Linked DNA regions of Homo sapiens: regions 1, 2, 3, 4, 6 and 7 are each linked to region 5. The links are contacts of gene promoters, found by promoter capture Hi-C in human tissues and cell types (Jung and others, 2019). All regions are on one chromosome and are shown on one strand. Each heading gives the region's core, a stretch centred on a gene start or on the middle of the fragment in contact. The rest is flanking DNA. Distances are from core to core; before and after follow the strand shown.

What was found. Contacts are between HindIII fragments. The study calls those that stand out against the background at their distance.
Region 1: a fragment that was not itself captured here is called in contact with the fragment with the promoter of PCNP in region 5 in 3 of the 25 tissues and cell types used here (IMR-90 fibroblasts, mesenchymal stem cells and thymus).
Region 2: a contact is called between a fragment that was not itself captured here and the fragment with the promoter of PCNP in region 5, in 1 of the 25 tissues and cell types used here (aorta).
Region 3: a contact is called between a fragment that was not itself captured here and the fragment with the promoter of PCNP in region 5, in 1 of the 25 tissues and cell types used here (mesenchymal stem cells).
Region 4: a fragment that was not itself captured here is called in contact with the fragment with the promoter of PCNP in region 5 in 1 of the 25 tissues and cell types used here (mesenchymal stem cells).
Region 6: a contact is called between a fragment that was not itself captured here and the fragment with the promoter of PCNP in region 5, in 1 of the 25 tissues and cell types used here (lymphoblastoid cells).
Region 7: a fragment that was not itself captured here is called in contact with the fragment with the promoter of PCNP in region 5 in 1 of the 25 tissues and cell types used here (mesenchymal stem cells).

Annotation. Positions count from the first base shown.
Region 1 is chr3:101,285,733-101,288,800 of GRCh38, reverse strand. The region is part of intron 4 of IMPG2 (interphotoreceptor matrix proteoglycan 2); the gene reads left to right. Among named protein-coding and RNA genes, the nearest start is that of IMPG2, 33 kb to the left of the region's middle. The HindIII fragment of the contact is 4,277 bases long and covers 1-3,068 here.
Region 2 is chr3:101,201,107-101,204,052 of GRCh38, reverse strand. LOC124906356 (small nucleolar RNA U13) reads right to left here and starts at 2,221; the gene lies at 2,118-2,221. The HindIII fragment of the contact is 5,383 bases long and covers 1-2,946 here.
Region 3 is chr3:101,157,484-101,160,367 of GRCh38, reverse strand. No RefSeq gene overlaps it. Among named protein-coding and RNA genes, the nearest start is that of IMPG2, 160 kb to the left of the region's middle. The HindIII fragment of the contact is 4,319 bases long and covers 1-2,884 here.
Region 4 is chr3:101,312,486-101,315,569 of GRCh38, reverse strand. The region is part of intron 2 of IMPG2 (interphotoreceptor matrix proteoglycan 2); the gene reads left to right. Among named protein-coding and RNA genes, the nearest start is that of IMPG2, 6.5 kb to the left of the region's middle. The HindIII fragment of the contact is 6,029 bases long and covers 1-3,084 here.
Region 5 is chr3:101,572,301-101,575,457 of GRCh38, reverse strand. PCNP (PEST proteolytic signal containing nuclear protein) reads right to left here and starts at 1,278. Exons shown (of 5, transcript NM_020357.3): 1 at 1,179-1,278. The coding sequence starts at 1,242. RefSeq lists enhancers at 759-918, 939-1,098, 1,179-1,308, 1,409-1,678, 1,122-2,067. The HindIII fragment of the contact is 9,941 bases long and covers 1-3,157 here.
Region 6 is chr3:101,064,597-101,067,856 of GRCh38, reverse strand. No RefSeq gene overlaps it. Among named protein-coding and RNA genes, the nearest start is that of ABI3BP, 73 kb to the right of the region's middle. The HindIII fragment of the contact is 3,799 bases long and covers 1-3,244 here.
Region 7 is chr3:101,222,783-101,226,002 of GRCh38, reverse strand. It overlaps IMPG2 (interphotoreceptor matrix proteoglycan 2), which reads left to right. Exons shown (of 19, transcript NM_016247.4): 19 at 1-3,220. Among named protein-coding and RNA genes, the nearest start is that of IMPG2, 96 kb to the left of the region's middle. The HindIII fragment of the contact is 5,403 bases long and covers 1-3,220 here.

The DNA of each region.
Region 1 (3,068 bases), core at 436-2,935, 290 kb after region 5:
ATTAAGGATACATGTGTAGGATTGTTACATGGGTATATTGGACCCAGGTAGTGAGCATAGTACCCAATATGTAGTTTTTCAACCCACACCTACCCGCCTTCTAGTAGTCCACAGTGTCTATTGTTCCTATGTTTATATCCATATATGCTCAATGTTTACCTCTCACTTATAAGTGAGAACATGCAGTATTTGGCTTTCTGTTCCTACATTAATTCACTTAGGATTATGGCCTCCAATTCCATCCAAGTTGCTGCAAAGGACATGAGTTCATTCTTTTTCATCGCTGCATAGTATTCCATGGTGTATATGTACCATATTTTCTTCATCCAATCCACCATTGATGGGCACCTCGATTGATTCCATGTTTTTGCTGTTATGAATAGCTAATGATGAACATATGAGTGCATGTGGCTTTTTGATATAATGATATGGGATTGCTGGTTTGAATGGTAGCTCTGTTTTAAGTTCTTTGAGAAATCTCCAAACTGCTTTCACAGTGGCTGAACTAATTTACATTCCTACTAATAGTATATAAGCATTTCTTTTTCTCTGCAACCTCATCAACATCTGTTATTTTCTCACTTTTTAGTAGCCATTCTGACTGGTGTGAGATGGTATTTCATTGTAGTTTTGATTTGCATTTCCCTGAGTGTTACTGATGCTGAGCATTTTTTCATATATTGACCTCATGTATGTCTTCTTTTGAGAAGTGTCTTTTCCTTTGCCTACTTTTTAATGGGGTTATTTGCTTTTTGCTGGTTGAATTGTTTAAATTCCCTATAGATTCTTGATATTAGACCTTTGTCAGATGCCTAGTTTGTGAATATTTTCTCCCATTCTGTAGGTTGTCTGTTTAGTATGTTGATAGTTTATTTTGCTGTGCAAAAGCTCTTTAGTTTAATGAAGTCCCACTTGTCAATTTTTGTTTTTGTTGCAATTGCTTTTGGGGGCTTGGCCATAAATTCTTTGCCAAGGCCAATGTTGAAAAAGATATTTTCTAAGTTTTCTTCTAGAATTTTTATAGTTTGAGGTCTTACATTTAAATATTTAATCAATTTTTAGTTAATTTTGGTATATGATAAAAGGTAGGGTTCCAGTTTTTTTTATTCTACATATGGCTAGCCAGTTATCCCAGCAGCATTTATTGAATGGGAAGTCCTTTCCCCATTGTTCATTTTTGTCAGACTTGTTGAAGATCAGTTGGTTGTAGATGTGAAGCTTTATTTCTGAGTTTTCTATCCTGTTCCATTGGTCTATTTGTCTGTTTTTGTACCAGTACCATTCTGTTTTGGTTACTGTAGCCTTATAGTGTGGTTGGAAGTTGGATAGTGTGATGCCTCTGGCTTTGTTCTTTTTGCTTAGGATACTTTGGCTATTCAGGCTCTTTTTTGGTTCCACATGAATTTTAAAGTAGCTTTTTCTAATTCTGTGAAGAATGACATTGCTAGTATGATAGGAATAGCATTGAATCTGTAAATTGCTTTGGGCAGTATGGTCATTTTAATGACATTGATTCTTCCAATCCATGAGCATGAGACTCTTTTGATTGATTCAGCTTTGGGTGTGGCCAAGGTTGCCACACTGTAAATTTTGCAAAGGCTATGTTTCCATATTAATTAATCATGGTTACAAGCTAAGTACATTTTGTTCCAATAGATTCTGTGTTACTATACCCTGACAGTAACACAATATTCCTGAAAACCTAACTTCAGACCTTACTGGATTTCATCATTCAAAGAGGAAAAATTTAGATCTGTGCTTTTTTCCTGCTAAGAGATTTATTTCTTGCATAATGTATCAACTAATAAATACCTGATCACAGTGCACCTCATTCACAACTACTAGGAGGTGATTAGAGAAGGAGGGGAAATGAATGAAAGTCTGTTAATTGGCTAAAGCATAATGGGTTTTCTCTGGAGCTGCCCCAAATTGATCATCTCATTCATTTCCTTGGGTTCTCCTGCCTGCTGATTCAAACTGTCCCATCTTTCTGTGCATCAGCTGGAAACAAACACCTTCATTCTCTCCTTCACCATCCCAACTCCCAAGAGGAATTTTTACAGAGAAGGTAGAATGATTCTGCTCATGTGAAGAGAAGGTTTTCCATCATGAGAACTAGCCTATAATGCAGCACATGCCATCGGAAGCTAGACTGGTAATGCGAGGCATATATAGTGTGAGTACATATATCTACAAATGTTGAGGCAGTATAATTTCCAAGCATTCAAAGTACTGATATGCACTTGAATGTTAAAACATCATAAAGATGCCAAGGGGAAGAGAGATGAGACTTTTTCTTCATTATCTTGTCATAGAATTAGGCTGGTAGACTTCATGGTAGACCACTATAAGAGGTAGACCATAATTTATTTTTCTAGATTGGATATTGAAGCATGCCATTTCACTGTAAATCTGGGCCTAATAACTAAAAATACTAACATATCAGCAGTTACTTAGAATATTGTAAAAAGCTTCTTACTCACAAGAATGGACAATGATATTTGCCCTTTTAAATGTTTTAGAATAACCATACTCAATAATCACCTAATTAGAGTCATTTTAATAAAATTAAAAATATTAGCTAATACTAATGTATTAGTTATAGGCCAGACATTGTTCTAGGTACTTTATTACTTGTATTAATTTACTTAATCCTCTGAACAATATAATGAGGTAGGTATTAATATTATCCTTCTCTTAAAGAGAAGGAAATTATGGCGTAGAGAATTTAAGGGACTTGTCCAAGGTCACAAAGCCAGTATTCAACCCCTATGCTATAATGCATATGTATTTAAATTATTAGGATATTTTACATCATTCAGAGATTAAAAAATCAGTTTTCTTTGTTGTACATATATGTGTGTGAATGAGAAAGACAAACATGAAGAATGAAAAGAAGTATTTAAATGGTTTCTATAATTTACATACTAAAAGCCCAGACTTCATCACTACACCATGTATCCATGTTACAAAATGGCACTTGTACCCCGTAAATCTACCAAAATTTATAAAAATTTAAAATTAAAAATGATATAATGAACTTTTCTGTAGATATTTGTACCAATTTC
Region 2 (2,946 bases), core at 29-2,528, 370 kb after region 5:
ATTTTGGTAAGTACTTGAGCAAGCATTAAAGATCAATAAATCTGGGATCTGAAAGATGCCTCAGTTTTATCCAGAGAAGAAGTTAGACACTACAAGAATCAGAGTTAGTAATCATGCAAGCATAGTTTCCTGATAGATGACCAGGTGTCTTTTTAATTTTGAATATTATAGCTGGAGTGCAATTTTAAGCCTCTTACCACTTTTAGGAACTTCTAGTACAGAAAAAGGAAGATGTCCATAAGGATCTCCATGAGTGTGGACTGAACCACTTCATCAGCTGGAGAACAGGACAGCAGAGAGTATGTGCATCAACTGAAAGAGCCACAGCCTGCGGCCAGGAGGAGACTTCACATGTTGGGGATCAGGAATCGGTCCAAATGTCATAAATTCACAATGTACTTAACGCTGTGCAGTTAGAATGCTTATTCACCTAGAAAAGTCATGCCCGCCAAGTCATATTTCTAGCATAACCACAAGAATTCGAAAGCTTCCTGGATTGAATATTAGCTGGGCCCTTTCCTGGAGGAATTGTCACACAGATAGAGAAGCAGCCAGGAGTCCACATTAGCCCTGAGCCCTGAGCATCTTCTTTCTTCAACAAGTGTTTATTGAATCTTGCTGTATGCCAGGCACTGGGCAAGATGCACAGGGGACAAAGATGGATGAAGCATAGTCTGACCTTGAGGAGCTCACCAACTAGGTGGGAGACAGACATGTTCATAACTACTGATGAGAAAGTGTGATAAATTCTGTAATACTGGTTGAACAAAGTGCTGTGAGCACAGGGGAGGGAGAGTGAAGCACTAGTTAACAACAGTGAAGAATTTTTGAGTTGAGAGGGTTTTTACAGGTTACCTAGTTCTTCTACCCAATGCAGGGATACTTACCACAGCATCCCTGGCTGATGGTCATTTAGTCTTTGCTAAATTTCCTTCTAGAAGTGGCTCAATGCATTTTCAGGCGTCTCTATTAAATTAACTGATGCAAACGGTTATCTGAACATTTGTCAGGCATTGTTCTGAGTCTGCCACATCTATCATCTCATTTAGTCCTTACCTAAGGATGGGTACTTCTAATATTGCTTTTTTCCTAATGAACAACTAGTTTGCCAAGTTTACATATCCAACAATGGCTGGAACCAAGTCTTAATTCCACAGTCTGACTTCAAAGCTGTGCTCTTAACCTTCCTGATACACTCATGTGTTTCTATTCTGCCATTTGCTGAGAAAAAGAGGAAGTTAAATTTCTCTCTTTTTTGACAGCTCTTCAAATATTTCCAGAGATCATTCGTGTGTCTGTGTCACCCTTACCTGTGACATCCAACTCTTCCCTAGTCATTCACTCTAAGTTCTTTCAAATGTTCCCCAAAAGACATGTTTTTCAGACCCTTTACCATCCTAGCCATCTCTGAAGCCTCCCGTTTGTTGATGAGTCTCTTAGATGTCTACAGAATCAATACAGCATTTCAGAAGTGGTCTGTCTACCACTGAATAAAATGGATGTCGCATCTCTTTACCTGGAAAGTATTCATTTTTAGTGGCAGCCACATCACATTCTTGACTTTCAATTTGCTGTCAAGAAAGCTCATAGGTCTATTTTCCCCGCTAATTTTTTTGCCCTTAACTAAATTTATACATTATTTGCAGGATTTTTGGGAACATGCTCAATTCACCTTATTCTGAAAGGCATGTTCCTAATACCATTTTAGAAAGATTGCTTAAGCCTTAATTAGAGATTCCTTTGGTGATATTAGTCATATTAATATTCATTTGGGACCTGTGTAAATATTTTAGTGATAGTTAAGATTTAAAAACTTGAATATCCAGTCTTATAAAAGTTACAAGTCCTATCCTAACTACCACTGCAAAAACTTACATAATTTAGAAGATCATTAGATTTTCAAGGTGAACCAGATTTTAAATATAAATCCTAGGTATTTGATAGTATTGCAAAATTATTCTTGTAAAGTTACTTGAAGCATTGGTACTGATTAAGTTATTAAAAAGAAAAAATGAAGATACTTGAAGCTAAGTATACTTAAGCATAAAATATATATTACGGAAACAAAAAGAGCCACTGAATGATGAAAGGATAATTATTTTACTTTATTATTTTCATGTCAGGTGGGTAATGTGCTGACATTGTAACAAGGTTTGAGGGAAGTACATTTCACACATGCATATAAAAACCCAACCATTATGCTTATAAACCACAAAAGAATTGAGAATTGTTTTTTACACTGATTGAAGTTTGAGGAATACGGTTTGTTTTTCTAGGGCTTTCCCTGCTGGAAATGATCACCCTGCATAATGGCTATATTTTAAGTCAAATGTTATGCTCCACATTAGCAAGTTATTCATTTAATCAGGCATGGAAAACCCATCTTTCTGGGCCATATTTTTATGCTCAGGTTTAATAGTTTGCAGAATGACCTCAATAAGTTGTTTAAATCTGTATTTGGAAAGGAGTCCTCAATCAGAATTCTCAAAGAACAGCTCTTGCTCAGGTTTCTCTCTGCACTTCTTCGTTATAATTATCTGTATGTAGATCTGTCGTTCTCCAATTGTGTCCCTGGACCAGTAGCATCAGCATTGTCTGGGTCCATTCCCGAAGTGCACATCTCAGATGTCCCCCAGACCTGCTGCATCAGAAGCTAGGGGGATGGGGTCAAACACTGTGTATTTTAATATGTTTTCCATGTAATTCTGATGCTTGCTAAGTGTGAGAACCAAAGAGCTACATTGTATCAAACTTTTAAAAATTATTCAATTATGTTGGGCCAAATTCTGGTAGAACAGTATGAGGAGAAGTCTCTACTTCTACTGTGATTACAGGTGGTCAGAGAACTTGGTCATGTGCCTGGCAGAGAAACCTCACTGCTGTGTTTCCCCACTCATATAAAAGAATGAATTGTTTGCTCTTTCTTTAGGAAATCAAACTAGGTAT
Region 3 (2,884 bases), core at 248-2,747, 420 kb after region 5:
TAGGCAAGTGATGGTCACCAGCCACTGGCAAACTTTGGCGAAAACATCAGTTATCATTTCCAGCTTTGGGGGTTTGCCTTGTGTCTAGAGCCCACATCAAATACATTGCTGCAATTAAATAGATTCTTTGCCACAGTGAGTTTCATTGGAATGTTTCCTTGCACTTCTCTGATGCATATAAATGAGGTGAAAATCTTATTTTGCTTTCTTCAGAGCCTGAAATATAAAGATTATGAAGAACGGCTGTCATCATAACATAGAAGCTTTTGAAAACAGTCTGTGGCTTAAAGCAAATCATTTTCTTCCCATGAATTAATTATCTAGCATTATGAATTTCTGTGAAGCCTATATAACCAGGCTTATGTTTTCTTATGCTGTTTTTATATTGGAGTTGCATGACAGTAACTTCCTATTTTCTTTTCAAGTGGAAAGATGGGTGGAAATTCTTTATAAGCTGTAAAATGCCATTCACATTTAAACCGCCATAATTTCTAAAGTTTTTAAAATTGCATTTGGTACCATTTACAAGGGTTTTTTAAATGCTTATTGGTTATGTTTCTGGTAGTATTTCACTCAGAAGATGTCTCTTGTCCAGTGTGCACATCTATAAGAAGCAAATTATTCTGTCTGCTTGCATTGCTGCATGCTTTGAAGAAAACGTTCTGTAGCTACCAGCAGAATTCTATGGTTCGAATAATGCCAGAAGCATTTCTGCTTAGATAATCATATGAAGCCAGGTGGGATTAATTAGAGACACTATATGCTCACAACTGAGGCACCAGCTTTGGTTCCATTCCTGTGACTTCCTGGCACCACTATTAAGCTAATAATTCTAGCTAGTGACAGTGGAGTTCAGACTCACCACCCCCATCGGGGTACTTTGAGGAGAGTTTAAAGATAGTAGGGCCTATGCCTCTCCCTGTTACTGCTCTTTTGCCAAGGTTAACAAAAGAGTCACTTGGGTAGGAGGTACAGGGCAGAGAGAAATCCTGTCCTCTGGGTGAGTGATGGTGAAACGACCAAGTCTTCTGTGTGGTGATCAGGTTGGGGTGGCTCCTGCTGCTGCCACTAATCCTAGCATTTTGGGGTTTCTCCTCACAGATTTTCCTCCTGGATCTGTGGGGAACCTGTCCTGATTCAGCCTCAGGTCCTGAGAGCTGGGCCTGGGGTGGAATTGACTGAGGCCAAATCAAGGATTTGGGAGCAAAGAGCAATTTACATTTTTGTCAAAGGCAAGGTTGACCTGGGATACAAAGAACTGTCTAAATCCTGTAGTCCAAAAAAAAAAAAAGAAAAGAAAAGAAAAAAAAAAAAGAGGTGGAGAATGAGAACTTTGCTGTGGAAGGTCATCAACAGAGAATATAAAAGATGGAATAAGCTGGGTGGACCTCGGAGAGCCCTTCTGAGGCAATGATGCATCCATCCCTTAATTTCCTTTTGGCCTGAAGTCTAATTTGTGAAAGCAATTTTCCTTCTACATTAGGTTTTCATTGATTATAGCTCCTTAAATCTGACACCTTGTTGAGCTGTACAAGGACTTGGGGACCCATCCAAAGGAAGCTTTGCCTTTTCCTCCTTATCTTTACCAGGTGATTTTGATGCATTTGTTTGAGGAGAGTTCCTGGTATGGAGGTCTAGACATTGAACTTTGGGGAGTAGAAAGCTCTCATGGAAATATCCCAGGTTTCTATATTAAATGATTATTTCTAAAGACAAGTACATACATACATATTTTGTTTACTTATTTAATCCAAGTGATTAGTCATTGAGCAGTCAGCTTGGGCTGCTATAACGAAATGCTGTGGACTGAGTGACTTAAACCAGAGAAGTTTATTTCTCACAGTTCTGGAGGCTAGGAATTCCAATATCAAGGTGCCAGCAGATTCAGTGCCTGGTGAAAACCTCTTACTAGCTTTCAGGTTGCTGCCTTCTTGCTGTATCCTCACATGGTGGAGACAGAGCTCACTGTGGTCTCTCTCCCTATTTGTATAAGGACACCAGTCTCATCATGGGAGCCTCACCCTCATGACTACATTTAAACCTAATTAATTCCCAAGTCTTCACCTCCAAATTCATCATATTGGGGGTAGGGCTTCAATATATGAATTTTGGGAGGACATAAACTGTTAGTCTATAACAAGGAGAAAAATAATGCAGTTGAACTCTGACTCAGTTCCCCCCAACTATCTGGGGGATGCTCCAAGTGGAATGGGGGAAAGAAGGCAGGTGCCTAGTCAATGTGATTCTGGACTCCAGGTAAATACACTAATGAAATATGTTAGCAGAAGGGTCTTTTCTGTAGAATGCTCCTAGCAGGATATCCTTGAAAAATGACATGAAAGCTGGGGTATAACACAGAGATGTTTCATAAAATGCTCCCTTATGGTAGGAGATAACACCACAAAACCTCCATTGTGGACCCCGTCTTTCACTCTGGGCCAGAGAGTTCATGTCTGTCATGAACCGAAAGGAGCTGGGGAACTGCTCTCAAAGTCCCCAATTTCTCTCTGCTTTTCTGGAACCTGAATCTTTTACTGGATTACCTGACTCTTTTACATCATGATGAAAGCTTGACACTGGCTATAATCTTGATTTGTGTGAGTCTGATCCTTTGTGTCAGATCAGGCAATAATAAAATAGAGCAAATAAAACAAACAAAATGGTTCCAAGTACATGTGTTTGTCTAAGATCTACTCATTTCTATTTTTAGCTTTTTTGTTGTTGGTAAAAAATTGTCCACATACAATTTATAGAGAAGAATAAAAGACAGAAATTTCAATCAGGTTCTTTAAGTGTTCAATGGATTATTTTTTTCTATTGTTTTATTGTGGTGAAATATACATGACATAAAATTTACCATTTAGCCATTTAAAGTGGACAAATC
Region 4 (3,084 bases), core at 206-2,705, 260 kb after region 5:
AGAATTCAGTTATGTTTCGTATACACCTTATACACTTATCTGAAGTAATTTTATACCATATTTTTGATAATTTTGTGCACGAAATAAGTTTTTGTACATTTAACCATCAGAAAGCAAAGGTGTCACTATTTCAGGCACCCACGTGGACAGTCTGTAGTTGTTTGGCATCATCATCGTCCCTGACTCTGAATTTACATTCTACAAAAAAACAATAATTTTCTTACACTTACTTACATATCAGTACTTCACAGTAAAAAATATGCTATACTGTTAGTACAGTGAAGAAGAATGTGTTCAGGGTACTAAACAGAACAGTGGCATCACCAGAATACCTGCCTCAGCTGTTAAACAACAGTAACAACAAACAATGGCAGGCTTCTAGTTTCTTTCTACAATTCTGTGTTTCGATTAAAGGTTATTGTACAACATACTTTATTTATTACTGTTGTTCGTGTGTCTGGTCTGCATGGGTGCCATTTTATGACCCCTTGTAGGTATGCTTGGTGGAGTAATCTGGACATGGGCAGAAAAGATATAACACAGCTGAAGGGAGCTGGGAGAGTCTTTTTTCCCTTGGGTACTCTTGTCTAGTGAGCCTGCATTTTGACTGTCACCCATCAAAAGAGGTCAGGTGTGGAATTTGCTACTTGTGGTATCATGCTGGCACTCAAAAAGTTTCATATTTTGGAGCATTTTGGATTTTTGGATTAGGGATGTTCAACCTATATTGAGTCTTCTGATCTATGAACATGATATATCCCTCCATTTATTTAGGTCATCTTCAGTTTCTTTCAGGAATGTTTTCTGATTTTTATTCATTCATTTATTCATTTGTTAATTTACACATGAAATCTTATTTATACTGATTCTACCAGGTATAGTATTAACCACAATAATTAAAACACTGTAGAGTGTGCAATAGTAAAGGTTTGTACAAAGTGTATATGTGGGAAGGACACAAGTGGGAATGGCCATCCATGCCTGGGGTGATAGAAGTTAGTTAACCTGGATTTCGAAGAATGAGTTGGCATTTTCCAATGAATCAGAGTGGGAAACAGCCCATGGAAGGTTTCAGGACCCAAACGCTGGGTATAGTTTCATTTGTTTAAAACTTACTATACAAGTTTAGAGTCCTAGGGAGTGAAGCCATCCACAGCCCATACTTGACTGATATATATGGTTACCAGATTTAGCATATAAAAATGCAGGACACCCAGTTAAATTTCAATTTCAAATAGACAACAAATAATCTTTTTAGTGTACGTATGTCCCATGCAATATTTGAGCCACAGGGCTATGCAAATCTGAGTCTGAGATACAAGTTTATTGGCTGTTTGTTTTTAGGAATATTATTCAATTTGTTAAAATCTTAGTTTCCTCACCCTTGAAATGGGAATAATAATAATATAAAATATATTTAAAGGTTTTAGTGAATTTGGCTAAGAGTTCTAGGGCCATTGTAGATCCCAAATAAATGACAATGTTATTGATTGAATGGAAGGAACATATAACCAATGTTTAGTGTATGGATCTTGCATATCTTTTATCAGATTTATTTATAAGGATTTCACATTTTTTCATCTATTATTAGTGATATTTTAAAAAATGTAATTTCTGATTATTCCTTGCTAGTATATAGAAATACAACTGATTTTTGTATATTGGCCTTTTATCCTGCAACTTTGCTGAACTCACTTACCAGTTCTAGTAGCTTTTTTGGGTATATTCCTTAGGGCTTTCTACATAGATAATTATTTCATCTACAAATATGGTTATACTACTTAACAATTTCTATGCCTTATATTTCTTTTTCTTGCCTTATTGCACCAAAATGGACTATTCCATATGCTTTGGGCTCCACAATTCTGAAAGGAAAATATATTACACTAAAAAAAGATAATTCCATGCTGGATTTCTGGATTCCTAAGTTTTAGATAAGACACAGCTGGAGATCTAGTAGAAGGATTAAAGACAGGTTAAATGCTGGCATTTTCTTCAGAATATTATAACATTTTTCCCTTCCACCACTAGTTTCCAGGGCAGGTTATTTCTGCTAGAAGAGAGCCCATTTGTACATCTTCTCAAAATAGAAAGCTCTCTTCAGAAGTTACCAAAGGCTATAATATCCTTATTTGACAAGGATGGGAATTCTGAACTGTTTAGTTACAGGCCAAGTAGTGAAGTATGCAGTATTTATCAGTGATGGAATTTTACCTTCCTTAGTACCTCTTTGCCTGGAGGTCATGCTGATTTTGCTCTTCTCTCTTCTGCCTACAGTGTCCTATCTAGGTTTCTCCTTTCTGAGCTGTGCAAATGCTTCAGAACATGTAACCATTCTGAATCCTGTTATTCCAAGTTAGTTAGTTGAACCTTCTTGTCAGATAGCTCCTAATTGAAAAGCCATTGGATTAAGCATGCATTCCCTTTCCAGAGGGAATTGCATTTTTTACAGCTTTTATTGGGATGTAATTCAAGTTTGATACAATTTACCCATTCATACTACAAAATTAAGTGGCTTTTTAGTATATTCACAGATATACCAAATCACCACAGTCAGTTTAAGAACATTTTTATCACCTCAAAAAGAAACATGTGACCCTTTAGCTATCATCCTTTTATCCTTTTATCTCCCTTCCCCCTCTTCCCAGGCCTAAGTAAACGCTAATCTACTTTCTGTCTTTACAGAATTGTGTATTCTGGATATATCATAAAATAAGATCGTATAATATATGGTCTTTTGTGACTGGCTTCTTTCACTTTGCATATTATTTTCAAAGTTCATCCATGTTGTACATGTATCAGTACTTTATTCCTTTTTATGGTCCAATAATATTTTAGTGTATGGATAGATCACATTTGTCAGTCAATGGGCATTTACATTGTTTGCATTTCTCTTAGGTATTTATCTAGGAGTAGAATTTCTGGGTCATATAGTAACTTTATAACTACATGAGGAACTGCCAGACTAATTTCCAAAGTGATTGTACTGTGTTATATCCCACCAGCAGTGTATGGGGGTTCTGATTTAGTCATATCTTTGCCAGCAATGTTTTCCTTTTTTTTAAAAAAAGTATAACCATTCTT
Region 5 (3,157 bases), core at 29-2,528:
AGAGAGATGGAGTTCCAGCTTAACTAACAGAATTGTACGTGTTTTTTAAAAAGGAAATCCTGGGTCCAAAGTAATTAACATTACACTTAATCTTTTCAATAATTTTTGTTCCCAAGGCAATTAACATGAAACATTATGTTAGTAGGTCTACTAGTGGCCTTCATATGCTATTAATCGTTTCTATTTTCTCATATTAAATAATTTCGGGAATGATAACTAAGGTGGTCAGAATAGAGAATAATGTTTAAAATGTTCTAAAAACATTTTAAACAGCTCGCACGTGTTAAGTCACTTGTCTTGTTATGTGCAAAGAGGGAGCTGGAGAGATTACGTTTCTTTTCCTTCACGCACAAGACCCGAATTTAGGGAGTGGAATGGACAGAATAAGGATAGCTGTAACCTGAGTTTAACGTCGTAACAAAATACAGGAAGAGTCACGCTAGACTATTTAGTCGCCTAAGTATCTGGCAAGCGGTCAGCTGGCAACAGCCTAAGGGAGATACTTCAAAGAAAAGCAACCAAACCTTAGCCCTAGACCCCGCAGCTTAAACCAGAGGGCAGGCAAAGGCATTCCTCTTCCCCTCCATCACCTCGGCCCATCCTGTCACAGGGTCAATATTAAACTTGGAAGTAAAGGAAAGAGAGCAGGCCGGAGTTGTCCACCTCCTCAGTGAAAAGGGAGCAGCAAGCGTAATTAACTCCTGCGTGTAACTGAGAGGCCGGCACCGTCAGAAACTCAGCCTGCGGCCAGTTCCCGCGGCAACTACTCGGTGGCTCGCACTGTGTGTATGTTATGTCTCATGAGCGTCTCCGGTGTGTGTGTTTTGTGTGATGTGCGTCTCCGGTGTGGCGGTAGCGGCTCCTGCACCGCCGCTCCTGGTCCCACCCCGAGTTCGGTCTCCCTTTCTGGCGCCCATCTCCCTTCTCCTCGGAATCAGGGCCTCCGCTGGGGCCAGGAGGTGACGAACAGTGGCCGGCTCTCCCCAGGCAAGGAGGCGATGTAGGCCCGGAGCCCAGAGGGCCGCATCGGGCGTGCCCGAGGCAGGTCTGGGCCCAACACCTGGCCGGGTGAGGTCCAGATCCGCCCATTCTCGCCCCACCCCACTCCCCCCACCCTGGGAGCTCAAAGAAAGGCCCGGAGCATCCCACGCTGCCCACGACGCTGGGGTTGTGTTCACCTCCGGCGGCTCCAGCTCGCTGCGACTTTTCAGGCTTCTCGTCTCCCGCCTTCCCGTCCGCCATTTTCCCCGCCGCGGCCTCCCCTGCAGCCACGCCAAGGACGTCACGACCCCGCCCAACAACCATCGAGTTTTTGGGGCCAGCCGGCGTGGTGGCAGCCTAGAGCGGTCCCGAGGAATGAAAAGAGGCCGCCTTCGGAAGCGGAAGTGGATGTGATGTCATCGAGTAGCCGCCTCGGAAGGAAGAGCTGGGAAGGTTGGGCGGTCTAAGAGTGCTGGCTAGGCACTTTATTAGAGGGCAGTCAGGTCTTCATGGTCTAGCGACAGGTCCGGAGAAGTGAGGGGAAATGGAGCATCTCCCTGGAAACGCTGGGATCTTAGAAGGTTTCTGCATACCCAGATGTGGTTGCAGCTGAGGCTGAGAGTGTCTTCCGTTCCGGCCTTGCTGGATAACGCATGCCTGCCAACTCTATGTAAACAAAAAGCCTGCATTCTTTTTCCCTAAAGGGGAAATCAGTGTTTATCTAGCGCCCCCTAGCTTCAGACGCCTTTCATACACTCGTTTAATCACGGCGATTGTCCAAATATAGAATTCTCCTCTCAATTACCTGTAAGAGTTGAGGTCAGAGAGAGTAATTTGTCTAAGTCACGTAGCCAACTGTAAAGTTACTTTTTGTATAGTCTGCTTCTACCAAGTTGAGAAACTACTATGTCAAGTTAAGACTGCAGTAATTTCTGCCTTAATAAGAAACCTTTAGTGGATTCCTACAGTCTGCATTCTGAAGTCCGTGAGTTACATTAGGCCCTAGCCTACCTTTTCGGCTTCATCTTCCCCCTTTCTCAGTATTTATCCAGCCCTCCTAGCCAAATGGGGTCTATTACTTGCTTAGGGAACTGGAGTTTCTGGGTTTGTCTTACCATATATAGTTAGAGAAAGTCTTAGGAGTCAGAACTTGGATTTGAATCTGTTTTGCCCTTTCCTGCTTGAGTAACCTTGAGACTTGCTTACTGCCTACAGAGCTACCTTTTCTTCTCTATAAAAGAGCAATAATAATAGTACCTCCTCAAAGAGTGGTAATAGGGATCAAATGAGATCATCTTTGTATACCATTATTTGGTCACTTCATACTTCCCTCAGTTTGTGTGTGTGTGTGTGTGTGTGTGTGTTTTAAGTGTTGTCTCTCTGAATGGCTCAAAAGTTCCTTGACAACAGAGACCAGTTTTTAAAAACTGTGTACTGTGCGTTTCATATATGAATATAAAAAGTGTTCAATATTTGCGGATGGATTACTTCTCGGGCTTCAAGTCCAGGGAGTGGAGAAAGAATGAAGAAATTATCAAAGTGTGTTTCCCATGACAGAAGCAGGGCAGTGTGGTGGTGATTTTGTGATCTAGGTTGAAGTCCCTGATCCATCATTTATCATATATGTAAAAGTAACCAGCAAACTATCTTACAGGTACTTAATTCATGTTTGTTTCATTTTCCTTGTGATCTTTTCAAGGTAATCATTGAGACTCTCGTTTCTATCATTTTAAAAATGGAGATATACACGAAGATTTTTATTTGAGATTATGTATTTACAGATGCTTGTAATTTTTTATGGGGGGTGGAATGGAGTCTCTCATTCTGTCACCCAGGCTGGAGTGCAATGGCATGGTCTTGGCTCACTGCAACCTCCGCCTCCTGGGTTCAAGCGATTCTCCTGCCTCAGCCTCTCGAGTAGCTGGGACAACAGGCGCGTGCCACCACACCCGGCTAATGTTTGTATTTTTAGTAGAGACGGGGTTTCACTATGTTGGCCAGGCTGGTCTCGAACTCCTGACTTTGTGATCCGCCCACCTTAGCCTCCCTAAGTGCTGGGATTACAGGCGTGAGCCACCGTGCCCGGCCGATGCTTGTAATTTTTAAGTGAAGAAGATAAAGCTCAGAGAAGTCACATACCTATTTAGGAGCGGATCCAGTTCCCATATACCACACT
Region 6 (3,260 bases), core at 96-2,595, 510 kb after region 5:
CTTTAGAACCAGTACTTAAATTTAAAAATCCTGTTGTTTATATTCTAGACAACTTTTTATAGGATTTTTCAGAAGAACTAATTATTTAGTTGTTTATCAATTACATGTCCATTCTACTTTTTTTTGTATTTCACTGCTTTCTCTCTTTTTCTCTTTGTCTCTATAAATTTCTGCTTTTAATCTAGTTGTAATTTTATAATTTAATGCTTAATTTATTCATTCTTGTTCTTCAAGGTCAATACTTTTACTAATAGCAGCTTTATAAAGCTATAAGTCATAAGTTTTGGCATAAAGGAATCTGAATTTTATTTTGCTTAATCTTATATGTATATTTGATATTAACCATTGATATTTTAACTACATAGAAATATATATATCATATATATATGCCAAAACTTATGAGTTATAGCTTTATAAAGCTGCTATTAGTAAAAGTATTGACCTTGAAGAACAAGAATGAATAAATTAAGCATTAAATTATAAAATTACAACTAGATTAAAAGCAGAAATTTATAGAGACAAAGAGAAAAAGAGAGAAAGCAGTGAAATACAAAAAAAAGTAGAATGGACATGTTATATATATATAGAATGGACATATATATAATATATATATAGGCAATTTATGCATATTGGAGAAACTCTGGCATGACCTGATGCTTTCAAGTACGTATATATTTTCTCTTTTATGTCTCAACTGAGAGCCTGGAGTTTTTTACTAAGGTCCCCCCACCATACTGGGTTGTGAATTCAGACTTCTGTCTCTCTGATGGACTGAAAAACTGCTGAAATCTTGGCTTCACTCTCTGGCATCTGAGCTGGGGCTTTTTCCTTGTTTTTTCAAGTCTCAATCTGTATGAGTAAAACTTAGCAGTTGGCAAATGGCTGAAGGGCAAATTGCTGTAGTATTTTGAGCTATCCTTTCTGCATTCCCTTTTCCCTGTTACATTCTGGCTTCTTTGGTCTGTGTCTGCCCAGCCTGGGGAGGCTGCTGTCAGTGCCAGCTTACCACTTTCTGCTTAGAAATGGTGGTCTACATCACCAACACCTCTGAGGAAAGACAGTTATAAAAATGTGTTCATATTAGTCTGTCTCTCTTCTTTATGGGATAATTGCCCTTCAACTTCTGATAGCCTCGGTTGCTCTTTGATCCCTTCACTGTTGCATTCAAACATTTTTCTTTATCTTTTATTTAGCTTTTGTAATTGTTTGTGGCAAGAAAATTGGTAATGACGAGAGAACAAAACTTCTCCCTTAACTTAATGCATTCTTTCCTTGTACTGATCAATTCCTTTTTAATTTTAATCTTACCCTTTATTCTAGTTTATCTTAAACTCATTTCTTATGTTTCAGAAAACGCTGTTTTAATTTATGAAAAATGCAAAGTAGATAATTTCTAAAAATATCTTCAGTTTCTTATGGTTAATCGTTTTTTGTGCATACCCTGTATCCCTAAGGCAGTACTTCCTTTCTTTATGTTACTTAATATTGTTTTACTTGTCCTTGAAAAAGAAGAAATCTGTCCAGGTTTTGTGTTAGGAAAAAATATTTAATTTCTCTAAGTTCTCTGTACTTTTCATTAGGTATGGAGTAAATATCTCATCTCTTAAACTGAAAGGGTTTGTTTTTATTAGACATCTACTAGCCAGATTTCCAAGGTCAATGAATCATTGGTTTAGAATGACTCTGCTTGATTTTCTCTTGTCTTTCAGCCGAACTTACTGACTCAGAAGGGTGTTTTTTTCCCTGAATCATTTGAGAACAACTGCAGTTCTCTGACAAGGGTAGTACTTGAACAGTAACAAAACCAAAGGCACTGATTTCCTTGCCTATTCTGTTATTTCACCTCTCTTTTTTAAAGGCTTCGCATCAGAAGAACATGCCTCCGAATGTGTGTTTTTATAAGCCCCAGCTACCTTGGATTATGAAGGGTTATATTCAATGAGAGTTTTGGAAGGAGAATGTCTTAAAAGTTGTTCTTGTATTGTAGAGGAATGACTGCCAAGTGTGGGATGAGGGAAGAGCAGATTTTTTATATCAGGCAGTCCTGGGCTTCAATACTGGTTACCCCACTTTCAAGCTACCCAATAATGGAAAGATCATTTAAATCTTTTTTGATGGTAAAGTTGGTATGATAGTAGCACTCTGCTCACATAGCTATTGTAAGAACAAACTATGAAACGTAATACAATCAGTATACTCTTGGTACAAAGAAAATGTTCCTAAATATTAGCTGTTATTATTACTTTTATTCTTACTCTTATTTTATTGGATTTAAATATTAGTAACTTTCATCCCATCTCAGGGATCAGATTCCTTTGAGAAATCCATGCATTTCATGCATTAATCAAGGTTTTATAATATTTCCAGTTTGATGAGGTGTGGGTGATAGGGCCAAGTGGAAACTAGGGTATAGCAATGAAAAACAGGAAAAGTCTTACAGGAGATTCCTAAGGCTAATTTTTGCAATACAAATGATCCATCCCAGTCATTCAGGATGTGAGGACTTCCATATCAGAGCCCTATTTTAGTGCTATTTTAGTTCCCTGTTTTATGTGCTTTTCTTAGAGTTAGGCTTTAAAATTTCAGTCTTGTGTTTTAAGGCTACAATGAGAAGAACCCTAGAAGCAAATTAGGAGCCTTGTGTTCTAGTCCTGGGTCAGGTGATGTCAAGCTGTATAATCCAGGGTGTATCACATCATCTTTTAGGGTTTTGGTTTCATCTGTCAGGTGAGGAGTTTGGACTAGATGTTTTCTCAGGCTCATTCAATTCCAAAAGAAGACTGATCTAGGGGGAGAGGCTTGTATATAGACATGAATAGATTTGCCAATGCTCATGTTCTATAATACATTCTTAATTTATAGCAATTCATTTCCTCCTCTTCCTCCTTTTCTCTAACCACCCATTCATTCAGATTTAGTGAACTTGATTTCAGATTGAGATATTAATGGTTCACAGTGTCACAGTTCAGATATGTGATCTTGGAAAGACATGAGGTCCTCACTGCACATAGTGCACACAAAAGCCTTTAATTAAACACATGAAATGTTTTAATCACATGCTCTTGAGAAAACTATAAAAAGGACCCATCCCAGGCCCAGATGTGCCCTTGGAAAAAATTGGGCCAGCAGAAGAGAAGAAGGGGTGGGAGTTTTAGCTGTGATTACTTCCATCTGTTCTTCAGAACAAATTTCTTAAATGTACACTAAATGTGAGAAAAATTATAAGAAGCTGATATTAAAGTTGGATGAAATAAGTAGAG
Region 7 (3,220 bases), core at 103-2,602, 350 kb after region 5:
ATAATATAGATGAGCTCATTTTCATTGCTTCTCCTTTGTGTAATACCTCCTGTCTAAATTAACTCCTGCTTATACAAAACAGGGCAAAGCTTTTATTACAATTAAAATATTTTAAAAACTGAACAGATAGGAAGTCCATACCTTATATAAATTTTGACAGAAAATGGAAATTTTCCTCTTTCCCCCTAGTGTTTTTTTTGAATGGGTTGCTTTGGAGGGGGAGAGGAGGAGGCCAAATCATCATCATCATGATATTAAATTGCATATGCAATAGGTTATTATTAATGCAGATACTTTATGCTAGATGTCTTCATGCTTGCCAAAACCAATTCTGAACATTTTGATTTATTTCTGACCAGATATAAATAACCAGTATAAACTGACCATAAGATAAAATACTTGGTTCACTTTTTTTTTTCTCAACTTGATGACTGCCAATTCTGCTCATTATGAGGACACCGGAAACTAAATATCTGGGCTCAGTGCATGCCACAGTAAAGCTAGTGAAAGCCTTGAAGATGGCCAGGTATTTTGCAAAGTATGTATGGATAACAGGTTGTGTGTGTGTATGTGTGAATGTGTGTGTGCGTGTATGTGTGTGTGCGTGTGCGCGCTAATGCGCATGTGCGCCCGCGCCAAGGTGGCTCCCTTATCCTAGCATTTCCTTTCATTCCCTACTCACATAATGGATCCTCTAACAGTTCAGTATAGGTACACTTTCCACTATTTTATTGACATGTTCTAGTCTTAATATTGGATAATTAGACACTTTCCACTGGGCCCATTTGAAAAGTAATTGATAATTACCTTTAAGACATTTTAAGTGTTAATGATATTTGTCACTACTAAGTGCTTAGTTTTATTTATAAAACTTTCAAAGTTTTCTGTTTAAGACTGTAAACTGTTTTCCTATACTACGTGTTAGATGAAAGTGTATTTTATCACAAATTAACCTTAGAATGCAACTCTTTGAATGTGTGCTTGCTGGAAGAATTCCAGATGGACACAAATCCCTCTAGGGCAGGTCACCATGCAGAACACTTAGGAGAAGCACGAACTGAGCCAGAGGAGGGTTGTTGTTTTCCACAAACTAAGCAGTGAAGTGGGAATTTGGGAATTCTGACACACGTCACCATCTCTGATTTCCTTTTGCGTGACCTTTTCATGCAAGAGCAAAACACTTAGCTCTTCATGAATGTCTGCTCCACACCAATGAAATGGAAGAGTAAAGGAGCCCCTCAACTATCAGGGAAAGAACAGGAGGCCTCAGTTGAGGAATACAACTTTTGTCCTGCCTTTGCTATAGCTGAACCACTGTTGAAAGGTTGAAGAACACAGTTTGCCCAGCAAAGATCCATCCACTCATGTACAAAGCAAAGCACTAAAGGAGCTATTAGTTTGATGGAAAAAACTACCCCTAAAGAGCTTCTTTCTAAAAGACCTTCCTCGAAGGTGATTTAATGGCATGTCATCATTTAAAAGTCTTAGGCTGAACTGTCATTTACACTGCACAATTGAGGAATGAAATTTTCTGAGTATTAGAACGTTCTTCTTAACCTAGCAATATAATATTCAACAAGACTATCACCTTATGTGAAAATACTAAAATGCAGTTAGCAATAAAATGCATGGTAAATAACCATTTTAAAAATGTTATTATAAAAGGTTGTAAGATACTGTGGTGTTTTACAGATGTAGCCTTTATAATTGAATTATATACACTATCCTTTTTTATGGGTTATGGATAAAGGGGAATTTATTTGATAAATAGGGCTCCATTTTCACCATTGCAATGGTTTAAGGGTGTTTGTTCACGTTTATGTGGCCTGAAGTCCCATTTTTATCACTATTATTATTTGAGATGGAGTCTCGCTCTGTCACCCAGGCTGGAGTGCAATGGGGCGATCTCAGCTCCTGGCAACCTCTGCCTCCTGGGTTCAAGCGATTCTCGTGCTTCAGCTTCCTGAGTAGCTGGGGTTACAGACACCCACCACCATGCCCAGCTAATTTTTATATTTTTAGTAGAGATGGGGTTTCACCGTCACCATGTTGGCCAGCCTGGTCTCAAACTCCTGACCTCAGGTGATCCACCTGCCTTGGCCTCCCAAAGTGCTGGGATTACAGGCATGAGCCACCGCACCTGGCCCCATTTAATTTATATAATAAAACAAGTGCAGGCTTTACCTGATTTTATTCTCACCTTCTGTTTTCTTCTTCTGCATTATCTGTCACCATGGGTTGGCTCCTCCCCACTTTCTCTTTTTTATTCTTTTCTCTCTTTTTTGCCACACTAAATTGTAATGTGTTTGAACAACTCTGACTTAATATTACCTCTAACAAAAAGCTGGAAACTGCACAAATATTCTTTGTAGGCTCTAAAAGTAGGTTGGCTGAAGTATGATACCTGAACTAATTATTCATTTGTATGCTTGTTTTATAAGTTTGACTTCCATTTCATGATTTTTTTGGTAGCTTTATGTTATTTCTGTTTTCAGCAATGGGTACTTTGACATCTTTCTGTCTCTGAATTGAATTTTCATTTTGCAACGGAAGAGAAGACAACATATTTATTCCATAATGAAAGAGCTAATGAAGTAGAATAACTATTAAATTGAGATGTTTTAGCAAAAAAACAAAAACACAAACCCCAAACGGGTTGTTTTGTTTTATTTTTTTCTAAAACATTTCTAACAATTCCCAGTAGGAATGGGTGGGGCCAGCCTTCCTCATTTACAATCCAGCTGCAGTGAGTCAAGATCCTAGCTTATTCTCCCAATTGTGTAATAAATGCAGAAAAATGATGTGACGGTCACTATTCTCAAATCCATTGCATTGTATTCCACAAAGGATATCCTGGCGGAAGGTGGAAATATGGGAGGGTACCATGATGTAAAGAATTGCCTGGAAATTTCCTTGAGTCATGCATTTTGTAAAACCTTACATTACTGCTATGAGTTAATAAGAGACAGGTTAAACCACTCCCCTCAGGATAGTAAGACTGGTTAAAAACACTGCTCTCAGCCCACACAGTTATAGCTACAGCCTAGGTTAAATGATTCCTCATCCTGGTGTTTTTATTCTCATGTTTAATTACTTCTTTAAAGATTAAGATTATATATAGAAAAAATAATTGTGGTATCAGAGAATACAGGTATAATTTTTCATATATCAGGACTATGTGATGATACTTAAGCAATAGTGTACATACAGTAATATATGT